Linked DNA regions of Homo sapiens: region 2 is linked to region 1. Evidence: promoter capture Hi-C in human tissues and cell types (Jung and others, 2019). All regions are on one chromosome and are shown on one strand. The core of a region is centred on a gene start or on the middle of the fragment in contact, and the rest is flanking DNA. Distances in the headings are between cores, read along the strand shown. Region 1 holds the start of VAT1L (vesicle amine transport 1 like). Region 2 overlaps NUDT7 (nudix hydrolase 7).

What was found. Contacts are between HindIII fragments. The study calls those that stand out against the background at their distance.
Region 2: a contact is called between a fragment that was not itself captured here and the fragment with the promoter of VAT1L in region 1, in 1 of the 25 tissues and cell types used here (liver).

Annotation. Positions count from the first base shown.
Region 1 is chr16:77,786,541-77,792,781 of GRCh38, reverse strand. VAT1L (vesicle amine transport 1 like) reads right to left here and starts at 4,218. Exons shown (of 9, transcript NM_020927.3): 1 at 3,867-4,218. The coding sequence starts at 4,099. All of the region lies in intron 1 of LOC107984878 (a long non-coding RNA gene), which reads left to right. The HindIII fragment of the contact is 13,812 bases long and covers 349-6,241 here.
Region 2 is chr16:77,730,386-77,737,445 of GRCh38, reverse strand. NUDT7 (nudix hydrolase 7) reads right to left here. Exons shown (of 4, transcript NM_001105663.3): 3 at 1,460-1,618. Among named protein-coding and RNA genes, the nearest start is that of NUDT7, 11 kb to the right of the region's middle. The HindIII fragment of the contact is 7,499 bases long and covers 778-7,060 here.

The sequences.
Region 1 (6,241 bases), core at 2,969-5,468:
GTTTTTAACAACAACATGGCCAAGGCCAACCAGAAGGCGTGGTTTGTACCTCACCCAGATCCTGTCTATGGGCAGGTGCCCATCCCCAAACTGCTGGAAGTGTTGGATGCTCAAGCCTCAGAGTCATCCCTTTCCCTAGAGAATTTTGCTCAGTCAGATAGAAGCCACTTCTGCTTGAGAGGCTCAATGTCCCCACTTAGAAAGTAGCTCACAGCCAATGACACACAAGGCTCCCTCTGTTCCTTGCTTCAAGGTGAGACTGACTCTGCAGTGGGATCCAGCTAAGACCACATCTTTGCTTAACTCCTTCCTCTTCCCTAGCCTGCTTCCCTTGCTCCCATAGTTCTAAAAGCACACTTTCAATAAACCACCTGAAAAAGGATCCCTGCGTCAGGTTCTGCCTCCAAGGAGCCAGACCTAAGACATCCAGTTAGCAAGTATCAGAGCTGGGACTCATGTCTAGGAAGCTCTCTTAATCACTAAGCAGATGTGACATGATATTGCCTATATTATATACATGATTAAAATGATGGCCTCCAAGTTGTAGGTCACCAAGCAGCATATATCACATTGGTTTAGATATGGCAACAACGACAGTCACAATGAATCCTACTTATTGAATGCTGACAACGCGGCAGTGTCTTTCTTGCATCTGATCCTTTCAACAATACCATGAAGTTCATTTTATTATCCCCACTTTGCAGATAATGTATGGGAAGTTTGGAGACACTGAGACACATCCCCCAGGGGCATATGGATAGGAAGAGATGAGGCTTAAGCTTATATTCAAGTCCCTCTCTCTTCAAGGGCCACATGCTTTTTCCACCTGGTCACTTAAACCTCTTGTTGCGTAAAGTATTCCATGAATAATTGGTGAAATCCATCTGCCATCAAAACTGACATTTTAAAAAACAATTTAGACAGAAGACTCTGCTATCATTCCAACCCTGACCCCAGCAACAGTTCTTTTTGAGCTGCATTTGACCAAAATGTCTCTACTTTCTGGAGAAAGCCATACTACTTTGGAAATAGCTAGAGAATATTCTCTTAAGCCAGACACAAAAAGAGCAAAGGAACCATCTTCGGTGGAGAAAGGAAAGAAAGTGAGACTGCATGCTAAGAGGGGAATCACATGTGCTAAGGCTTTTCCACCAAGGGAGACAAAAATGGAATAAAAGGAAAATAGCAAAAATATAAGGAGAATTAGATTCAAATCCTAAGTCTACTATTTTTTGATGTTTTTGGCAAATTACTCAATGTTTCCAAGCCTCAATTTGCTCTTCTGTTCTGTAGGAAAAATACCCATCTCACTGGCGCATTAATGAAAAAGGGTCCATGATATAAAATGGATATTTCTTCCTGCCTCATCTCTTCCATTTTCATAAAATTCATAGCCAACTTGGAACGTCATTCCAGGTCTGTCTAATACTGGTTCAAATGGACTATGCTTTATTCCAAGCAAAAAGCATATCCTATTATGACAAAAAGGTTTCTATTAAAAATAGAGAGCAGATAAAAGGGAGACCATCATCCAGGAAGCCATCGGCTGATTCATAAAAATACAGAATGAGTCATCCTGTATCCCAAGGCTAAAACTTATAATCAATGATCATGTCTGGCCAGCCAATCCCAGCCCAGAGGAGAAGGAGCTGCCCAGTGGGCCATTTACAAGCCTATTACAATCCTTCCTTGTAAAACCATTAACTCTGCTTCCAGCTTGGTGAAAGGAAAATCAATCTGGGCTGTTTGCAACACTGTATTCCAAATGTACCTGCAGCCTGGTTGGCTTTCTGAACAACTAGGGTCGGGGAAGTGCAGTGATTTCTGTGTGTGTGTGTGTAGCGCCACTGAAGAACAGGCTTTCACATCTGGCTTTGAAAATCAATCTCTTGGCCTTCATCTTGACATTTATTATTTCAAAATGCTTCAGTTCCTATCAGCAATTATGCAGTTAACATAAGACTGGAAAACACAGAACTATGTGTACTGCAGATGATGCTCTTTCCTTTAAAAAGTAGTTTTATCATTTTCCCTCTCTGAATATGTACTCTAGAATCCTAGAATCCCATCCTCAATTTGGATGAAGGGTCATAAATTACATACGCATACATATGCAACTGTATATATAATTGTATATATGTATATGCACATATATGCATAGGTGTGTGTATACAGGTAATTTTTTTTGATGAAGTGGTTAAGGAAGGAGAGTTCTAAATGCATGGTTTTAATTGTACTAAGCAAAAGCTCTTCCACCAGCAAGTAAAGAAAAATAATGACCCAACAATCCTCCTCCGAGCTCTTTCCTCAATCCATTCATTCAGCGATAACTTATTTAGGATGTGCAGTGGGCCAAACAGTGTGGGGTGGGGGAGTGGGCTGGTCTTTGGGGATTTAGCTGCGAAAGGGCAGATATAAGCTCTCCTTCTGGGATCAAACAACTTGGTTCAATAAGAGTTTATTGTACAGGATCCCCCGGTTTGCAAAAGCCTCTTCCCTTACCCGGAATTCCCCACAGAGACTCACGAGTCGTGTTCAGAGTCAAACCTGACCAGCTGCATATATGAGCAGCAAGGCAGGGATCAGCGGCTGCTTCTCCCACTAGCTGCTTTCTAATCTGGCCGATGAAACCTGCGTCTGTTCTCAAGGTGGTGAACGGGAGGGGACCCTCGTTTGTATTTCTCGTGCCTCTAGAGAGGTCCAGATATTGGGTTTCTGATCTAACCTAGAAGCTCGTGAGCTGGCTGCTGCTTTGGAGAGCAGTATGTACTGGGGGGCTCTAGAAAACAGATGGGAAGGAATAGGCTCGTCTCACCGTGATTAATAGCAAGTTCCCCTTACAAGTTTAACATGCAAACCTAGTGTTGGGTCCAGTCCGCCTCTGCTGGGTAAGCTCTTCCCAGAACTTCAGGGAAATTACAGTGCCCGCACACAGAGAGGCTTAAACTCTCCCCGGGAATTTCAGCTGAGCGTGAGGGCCTGGAGAAGTTCCCCCAGGGGGAATGGGGAATAGAGGGCAGCTTAGAGAGCTGAGCTCCTTCTGAGATGGGACCAGGAATTCCGGGGAGACTGATCAGGGTTTTTTCCCCTCTCGGAGAAACAGAGGATGGAGAGGGGCATGGAGGGGGTTGCGCTGCAGCCCTGGTCTCCACCCTCACCAAGCCTGGGTGCAAGGTACCGACCCTCTTCCTTCCTAGTTCCTTTCCCCGTCAGGCTACGGGGAAGGAAGTGGGCAGGAGGCGGGATCCAGCCCTGCACCCTGTCCCAGGCCCTTCAGGACAACAGCATAGAGGTGAAAAAAGATCATGTATCAAATTCCCGGCCAAGCCACTTAGTGGCAGCTGACTGATCTTGGGCAAATCACTCATTCTCGCTGAGCGGCGGCTTTCTTACCTGTAAACGGATCATGATGGCACCTGACTCATTAGGTCCCAGGAAGTATTAAATAAGATCGCACGTGTAAAACTACCAACGGCGGCTGGCACACAGTGGGCTTGCGGTTCTTAATACATATATTTTTAATTCTGTTAAGCATCAACCCTCCCGTGCGAAAGCTGAGTTGTCCTCTCAGACGGAGAACTCCCGTAGCGCAATCTTCCAGACCCGGGGTGCCTGGGCGCCAGCATTCTCCCCGCGCCCAGGAGCTCACATTCTCCTCCCGTCACCCCTAGATCTGGCTTGGGGAGGCCGCCCCTCTGCATCCTCCCCAGCTTTGGCCCGGGGAGGCTCTGAGACCCGGGTGAGGGCGCGGAGGGGGTGCGCGCGGCGGTTCTACCCGGGCAGCATCCCAGCCGCAGCTTTCCCACCCCCTCCCCAGCGCCCAGCGCGCAAAAAGAGAGAAAGCGAGAAAGGCGCGGATACTGGACCAGGCTTTGACGCGGATCTTGAGCTCGCCGTCCTGAGGCTCGGGCATGGCCTTCCTGAAGAGCCGCAGCTTGTTGAGCCCCCCGAAGCCAGCCAGCACCACCGCGCGCATCTCCTGGGCGTCCCCGAGGCGGTGCGAGCCGTCGCCGCCGCCGCCCTCCGCCGGCTCCTTGCCTGCCTCCTTCTCGATCATTTGCTCCGTCTCCTCCGCCTTCTCCACGCCTTCCTTGGCCATGGCGCTCGAGGGCGCGGGGCGCACGGGCTGCGGTGGCTGCGGTGGCTGCGGCGCTGGGGGAGTGGGGCTCCTCTCCCGCGGGTTCCTCCTGTTGAATGTGGGATGCTCGGCTGTGCAATGGCTGCAGCCTCTGCGAGCGCCGCCGCGGTCCACAGCCTCCGCCGTAATCCTCACAAGAGCCGTGCCCTAAGCGCTTCACCCCCGCCCCACCCTTCTTTCCTGTCCCAACGAAGCCTCAACTCCAGTTCCTGAAATAGTCCCAAGTTAGGGTCGGGATCGCGGCCCTAAACCCAAATTTGCCGAAGATCTGTGACTAAAACGAGCCTAGAGAGACCACCCTGTCATCCCCCTTCCTGTGGGCCCAGTACTTGGTTATATACGGCACAGGCTCGGGTGCCTTGAAATGGACCGAGACTAATGTCTGGGCCTGGAGGATGCCTTACCGCGACAAGGTTGCCCTCTCTCCCTCCCATCTTCGAGGCTGGGCGGGATAGTCGGGAAATTGGGTCGTTTCTCAAACAGCCAGTTTTGGGTGGAAGGGCGGAGAGGTTTGGGAAGCAGGGAACTAGAGATCCCGCTCACTGCCCTGAAGAGTCCAGTGCAGGGTCTTTTCACTCCAGACCTGCAGGGTCAGCCGGGATGCTCTTTGCTGGGTATCACCAGGGGCTTCCTTACGACGGCGAATTCTCACCACCCACACCATTTCGGGCTATTAAAGAGGCTTCAGACAAGAATCCTGTACCAGAAAGGATCCTGTTCGTGTTCTGATCCCCGGAAGACCAGTGTGTACCCGCTCCCCAACATGCATGCACATACACAGAGTAGTAACTGGCGTTTTGTTTTGTTATCAGGCTCTTTGAGAAAAACAGCTCATAGAAAAACTTGGAATTTCTGAAATAAAATAATGGGGAAGGACGTGGTTTTCCTAGGGGCAGTTTAAGGAAAGAGATGCAGGTGAGGAAGTAGGTCTATATTCTATTATAGTTGCTATGCCATTGCCAGCCTTGAGATCTTGGGCAACTCATTCAACCTTCCTGAGCCTCAACACACTCATCTATAAATTGGGTACATTGATTTTTTTTTCTATATTGTGTGAAGTGCTGGGGTGGACATGATTTCAGTGAGACATGGTCCTTATATTGGAAAAGGTCAATTTCAGAGCATGAGGCATGAAGGACACAGTCAACAAATGTGGTACAATGAATGATGTAAGTGCTGCCTCTTCTCTCCCCTCATTCTTCCTGTGCCTCACTGCTTTAAATGCCCTTGTCTTCTATTCCTTAAAAAAAAAAAAAAAAAAAAAAAAGACGATTGCCATTTTCCCTCCTTCCACAGGGTTCTGCACCTGCTGTCCCCTTGGCCTGGGGTATGTGTTCCATCTCCTTTATCTGGTGTTAACTCCTACTTCGTTCTCACCTCAAGGGTCCATTCCTGTTGGGAGGCACTCCAACCTCCAGATTGGTGTCCTCCCTGACTATAGACACTTATGTCCCTTTGTAGCCAACTTTTATATGTTTACCTGATAATATCTGTTTCCTTTATCCAACTGTGAACTTCATGTGAGCAGGAGCTATTTCTACTTTTATCCAGCGTGGTTTTCCCAGGGCTTAATACATGATTGGTACATAGTAGAATATGCACAGAGGCAGCCTGTTGAAAAACTGGTCCAGAGAGTTGGAGAAGTTCTCATGGAGGAGGGAACATTTGGGCTAGACCTTGAAGGATAAGGCAGGTTCTTCTGGCAGAAAAGGTCGCAAGCTCATTCAAATAACACAGAAAGGTAACAGGTAAAAGGGCTTTTGAGATTCTGGTTTGTTCTATGTAGGCAGAACATTGGCTGTATTTAGCAATCATTGGAGATGAGGCTGAAAGGTTTATTGGGACCAGCTTTTGAAAGTTCTCACATACCAGGTTATAAAATTTAAGACATAATCACAGAGGCAATTGGTGCCATAAAGGCTTAAAAAACAAAAACATGGGGAGAGCATTACCAGAACTGCATTTTAGGATAATAACTTTGACAGTAAGTGGGTGATGGATTAGATGATAGAGTTACTGGAAGCATCGAGATCAGTTAGAGACTAAGTGCAGGCAAAAAAAAAAAAAAATCCCCAAAAAGAAACAAAATAAATGAGAATGGTC
Region 2 (7,060 bases), core at 3,278-5,777, 56 kb after region 1:
CTGTGTGATGAGAGCACTTCACCTCTGTGGTGTTCCCAAATTATGACCCCAGCTTAACGATGAGAAAAATATCAGACAAACCAAAATTGGGGAACATTCTATAAAATACCTGACCACTACATCTCCAAACTGTCAGGGTCATGAGAAGAAGAAAGTCTGATAAACTATCACAGACCAGAGGACTAAGGAGACATGACCACAAAATACAATATGGTATCTTAGATGAGATCCAGGACAGAAAGGACATTAGTAGAAAAACTAGTAAAAAGCAAACAGAGCATGGAGTTCAGTTAACAGTAACATGCTGACACTGGTTTCTTTGTTGTGACAAATGTACACAGTGATGTAAGATGTCAACCACAGGGGAAACTAGGTCTATGGTCTAATTTCCTATAGTCTAGTTTCCTATGGTCTAGTTTCCTATGGTCTAGTTTCCTATGGTTTCCATGTGGTCATATGGAAACTAGGTCTACATAAGAACTCTCTGTACTACCTTCACGACTTTTCCATCAGCCTACAGCTATTCTGAAATTAAAATTAAAGGTTTTATTAAAACATTTATATGGTAAAATCATGCTGTTATCCAAGATCATACTTCTTAATACAATATTTACCCCTTCTAAAGTCAGTTAGTAAAACAATGAGGTTGTTGTGGTGAACCGATAGAAAGTAAGATCAGAAGCTGAGCACAGTGGTTCACACCTGTAATCCCAGCACTTTGGGAGGCTGAGGTGGGAGGATCACTTGAGGCCAGGAGCTCGAGACCAGCCTCATCAACATAGCGAGACCCCCATCTCTATAAAAAAAAAAATAAAAAAGAAAATAAGATGTGGTTATCTCAGCTCCAAAATTCATTTTTAAAAATATTTTAAATGTTTTGATGTATATTATACTATCAAGGAAATCCTGATCCAACACAAATGCAGTTATGAATAGTAATAGTTTTTAAATAGCTTGCCTAGTGATTTCACGGTTCTATTCAATTAATGTATCACAGAGAGGCTTTATTCTATAGTATGTAGAAAAATGAATATCCTTACGGCAGAAGTAATGCATTGGTGGTCTCCAAGGGGCTAAAATTTGGTATCTAGCACATTGGAGTGTCTGTTCTTTTTTCAACTGAACTCTCAAAACCAATGTATACTGGAGAAAAATAAATGTGAACTGAATGTTAATAATTCTGAAGCATCTCTCTAGGGTTCTATGGCATCCAGTTTGAAATCCACTGATGGGAGTTCAACCCTTTTATTTCTGGATGGGGAAAGAGGGGTCCGGAGAGGCAAAAGGGGTTGCCCATAGCCACTTGACTCATGAGGGGCAATGTCTGTAGGAGAACCTGTTCTCTTGACTTTATGTACAGTACTCTTTGGGGTTATGTTTGGAAAATGTGGAATCCTGAGAACAGTAGATCCACCTGGGGGTGGGGACGGTGCTCATGAGTGTCTCAGGAAACCCTTACATCAATAAGACATGGCACCAGGCAGCAGACAACTTCCACTTGGTGAGGACGGAGACCCACTTCCTCCTGGGCTTCCCGGAGAGCTGTGGCTGCATCATCCATGTCTGTAGGGTCACGCTTACCTCCAGGGAAGCAAACTTCTCCAGGGGCCCTTCTTAGCTGGATATAGAAAGAACAGCGCTACAATGTGGGATTCTAATTTTGGAACTATTTATGCATTCAACAAATACTTACTGGACTTCTATTTTGTACCAGAGACCATTCTTACCCAGGTGGTGGTATCAAGACCCCTATTGCCCACAAATGTGTTTTCTTGAATCCTTTTTAAGAAATGAACCTTGAAAATTTTTCTCACTGCTAACTTTTATTCTATTTGTCCCCAAAAGATACCACACACTGTATTAATCTGTTCTTGCACTGCTATAAATAAATAACTGAGACTGGGTAGTTTATAAAGAAAAGAGGTTTGGTTGGCTCACAGTCTCGCAGGCCGTACAGGGAGCATGATGCTGGCGTCTGCTTGGCTTCTGGGGAGACCTCAGGAAACTTACAATCATGGCGGAAGGTAAAGGAGGAGCAAGCACTTCACATGGCTGGAGCGGGAGACAGAGAGAGGGAGGGGAGGTGCTACACACTTTTAAACAACCTTATCTCGTGAGAACTCACTCACTATTGTGATGACAGTACCAAGGGGGAAATCCGCCCACGTGATCAAATCACCTCCCACCAGGCCCCAGGTCCAATATTGGGGTTTACGACTGAACATGAGATTTGGGTGGGGACAGGATCCAAACCATATCACACACACACAGATTGACACTGCTAGGGGGAAAAAGCTGAAAGAATAATGTAAGGGGCAATATTATCAACAGATAATTTTGTTGAGTCCTTTAATGGCTGCTTATTATGTTCTGGGCATGTTGTTTCATAAAGATTTTTCCCACTGGGTCCTCAGAACAGTCCTATAAGCTACTAATTTTTGAACGAGGTGAAATTCACATAAAAGTAACCATTTTAAAGTGAAAAAAAGCAGAGACGTTTAATACATTTACTGTGTTGTACAATCATCCCTACTATCTCATTCCAGAATATTTTCATCATCCCAGAAGGAAACCCCATACAACAGTTGATTCTCATTCCCCTCTCCCTCTGTCCCTGCTTTCTGTCTCTGTGGATTTACCTAGTCTCGACTTTTGTGTCTGGCATTTTTCCCTTCACATATGTTTTTGAGGTTCTTCATGTTCTACGTGTATTGGTACTTCCTTTTTTATGGCTGAATAGTATTCTATTGTGTGTATAGATCACAGTTTGTTTATCCACTCATGCATTGATGGGCAGGTAAGCTACTCTTTTCTTTTCTTTTTTGACATGGAGTCCCGCTCTGTGTCCCACGCTGGAGTGCAGTGTGCGAACTCGGCTCACTGCAAGCCTTGCCTCCTGGGTTCACACCATTCTCCTGCCTCAGCTTCCTGAGTAGCTGGGACTACAGGTGCCCACCAGCATGCCCGGCTAATTTTTTGTATTTTTAGTAGAGACGGGGTTTCACCATGTTAGCCAGACTGGTCTCGATCTTCTGACCTCGTGATCTGCCCTCCTCGGCCTCCCAAAGTGCTGGCATTACAGGCGTGAGCCACCGCACCCAGCCATAAGCTACTCTTATACTATTATTATTTCCATTTTCAGACAAAGGAACTTAGGCTCACAGAGGTTAAATAACCTGACCAAGTTCACTCAGTGAGCTGGAATATAAACCAGTGTTTAATTTACGAGCCTGTGTTTTTAATCAGTACAACACACATTTATCAAAAGTTTAGTAAGACACAAAAAATATAGGCCCTGGAGCTATTAGCATTGTGTTGGCATCTATGTTTATCTTTGCGTGTGTTGGTAAAGGAAAAGAGGTCTCCTCTTTCCCCGCATTGCCCCCTTCCTTGATTCCATTCCTTCCTGCCTTTAGGAGAACTGACAGTGTCTCTATAGCATCCTAAAATTACCCCCTTTCTTATCTCTGTCTTTAAAATTATTTCTCTCATATCTTGGGCAGAAGTGGAGAGGCACAAACCCTCCACTGTTCTCTCTTCTGCAGGGCCAAATATCTCAGCAGAGTGACCTCAATTTCTTTTATGCCCACTTGTGCCTAGTACCCACTATCCTTTCTCTCCTGAATTGTCAAGGAGCCCTCAGGCTCAGCAAGAGTCCTGGGTCTGCCTCTTTCCAACTGTGTGCAATGGGGTAATGACAGTGTGCTCCTCACAGAGCTGTGAAGATTGTTCCATGAGGATGGAGCGGATGCACGGGAATGGTGCGTGGCCACATTAAATATTTAATAATGAGAACTTGTAAGGTCAGTCCTGGACATTGAGAAGCTCAATCAAGAGATCATGTTGCCATTTTTAGCACCTAGGCCATATATCTATGTAAGGATAAACTAGATGCCTGCAATGGCCTGAATGTTTATTCTCCCATGAATCCATATGTTGAAATCCTTACCCCTAAGGTGATGGTATTAGGAGGTGGGATCTTTGGGAGGTGTTTAGGTCATGGGGGCAGAGCCCTCATCAATGAGATGAATGCCCTTATAAAAGAGACCAGAGACAGACTCTTTGCCCCTTTCCCTGTAAGGACACTGAAAGGATGACTATCTATGAACTGAAACAGGGCCCTCACCAGACTCCAAATCTTCTGGCAGCTTGATCTTGGACTTCCCAGCCTCCAGAACTGTGAGAATTAGTATCTGTTGTTTATAAGCCACCCAGTCTAAGGTGTTTTGTTATAGCAGCTTGAGAGGACTATGACAATGCCATGATAAACTTTTTGATATTTTATAGGCTTCAGCCTCATTTGGGCAAGACTTAAAAATTTTTTTTTAAGTCCTTCTGTGCTGATAAATCAGGAACACTGCAGAAATTGCTGCCATAGCTAAATCCTTAGACATCTTCACATCAATTACAGTTGTAAAAACAGGTGAAAAGAAGGCTGATGGACATATTTCTACTGTCTTGAACACTCACCAGCGACTGCAAATATGTCTTACCAAATGCGTAAGAAATACACCTAATGTTACAGCAACTCTGAAACAGTGCTTTATTGTTAGAACGTTCAACTCCAAGGCAGCCAGGGACAAACGCACCTCCAAGCAGTCATCAGGCTTGACAGAAACAGACCTGATATGATGCCTGTTTTAAATGTACAGTCACGTGTTACTCAACAACAGGGACACGTTCTGAAAAATGCATTAGGCGATTTCATCATCGTGTAAACAACACAGGGTGCACTTGCACAAACCTGGATAATATAGACTACTATAAACCTAGGCTATATGGTGTAGCTACTGCTTCTGGGTTACAACCTGTATACCATTTTACTGTCCTGGATATTGCAGGCAATAGTAACATAATGGTAAGTATTTGTGCATCTAAACACGGAAAAGGTACAGTAAAAATATGGTATAAAAGATCAAAAATGGTTCACCAGTATGGGGCATTTACCATAAATGGAGCTTGCAGGACTGAAAGCTGCTCTGTGTGAGTCAGTGAATGAGTGGGTGGTGAGTGGATGTGAAGGCTTAGGACATTAAACACTGCTCTAGACTTCATAAATACTAGACACTTAGGCTATAGTATGTTTATAAAAATATTTTTCTTTTTCTTTTTTTTTTTTGAGACGTGTTCTCGTCTGTCGACCAGGCTGGAGTGCAGTGATGGGATCTCAGCTCACTGCAGCCTCTGACTCCTGAGTTCAAGTGATTCTCCTGCCTCAGCCTCCCAAGTAACTGGAATTACAGGCACCCGCCAGCATGCCTGGCTAATTTTTGTATTTTTAGTAGAGATGAGGTTTGGCCATGTTGGCCAGGCTGGTCTCGAACTCCTGACCTCAGATGGTTCCCTCCACCTTGGCCTCCCAAAGTGCTGGGATTACAGGTATAAGCCACCACCCCCCGGCCTTTTTCTTTTTTAAATAATAAATTAACTGTAGCTTACTATTACTTCTTACTTTCTAAACTTTTTAATTTTTAATTTTTTGACTCTTTTGTAATAACACTTAGCTTAAAACACAAATACATTACACAGCTATACAAAATATTTTCATTATATCCTTATTCTAGAAGCTTTTTTCTATTTTTAAGGATTTTTTTTTCTTTTTAAACTTTCTTGCTAAAAACTAAGATACAACACACAGAATAATCAATATCACTGTCTTCTACCTCTACCTCTTGTCCCACTGGAAGGTCTTCAGGGGCAACAATAACATACATGGAGCTCTCATCTCCTACAATAACAATGCCTGTGTTTTTTGGAATATCTCCTGAAGGACCTTACTAAGGCTGCTTTATAGTTATTTTTAAAAAATAAGTAGAAGAAGAACACTCTAAAATAATGATTTAAAAGAATAGTGTAGTAAATTTCATAAACCAGAAATGTCATTTTTTATCATTATCAAGTATTATATATTGTGCATAATTGTATGTGCTACACTTTTAGACCACTGGCAACACAGTAGGTTTGTTTACACCAGCATCACCACAAACATGTGAGTAATGTCTTGTGCTATGACATTATGACTGCTATGATGTCAGTTGGTGATAGGAATTTTCAGCTCCATTATCATCTTTTGGGGCCACCATTGTATATATGGTCCATGGTCCATCATTGATGGAAAAACAGTTTTGCAGCACATGACTGTATTTTGAAAGGTTTCAAAAGTATCTCATAGCATACCAATTTTATTCAATTTGCCTTGTACACCTATTCCAATTAATAGGTAATAGGAATTGGAAAAGATCATTTTGGATTAGTGAGAACATTGCTCTCAAGAAAATGTTATCCTTGAGCTGGGCAATGATTTTTAAAATATGACCCCAAAAGCACAGGCAATGAAAGCAAAAATAAAACATGGGGTTACTTCAACTAAAAAGCTTTTGCACAGCTAAGGAAACACTCAACAGAATGAAAAGACAATCTGTGGAATGGGAGAAAATATTTGCAAACCATACATCTGAAAAGGGGCTAGTATCCAAAATATATAAGGAACTCAACTCAATATCAATAATAAAAAAAAATTTAAAAATGGACAAAGGAACTAAATAGACATTTCTCAAAAGGTATATGAAAAAAATGCTTAACATCACTAATCACCAGGAAAATTCAAATTAAAACCACAGAGAGACATTACGTCACACCTTTTAGAATGGCCATTATCTAAAAAACAAAACGTAAGTGTTGTTGAGGATATGGAAAAAAGGGAACTATCACACACTCTTGGTGGGAATGTAAATTAGTACAATCATTGTGGAAAACAGAATGGAGGTTTCTCAAAAAATTAAAAACAGAATTGCCATATGATCCAGCAATCCCACTACTGGTTATATATCCAAAGGAAATGAAATCAGTATATCGAAGAGGTCTCTGCACACCCATGTTTACTGCAGCATTGTTCACAATGGCCAAGACATGGAATCAACCTGAGTATCCATCAACAAGTGAATGAAGAAAATGTATATACAGAGAGGAATATTATTCAGTCATAAAAAAGAAGGAAATCCTGTCATTTGTGACAACATGGATGAACCTGGAGGAAATTATGTTAGGTAAAATAAGCCAG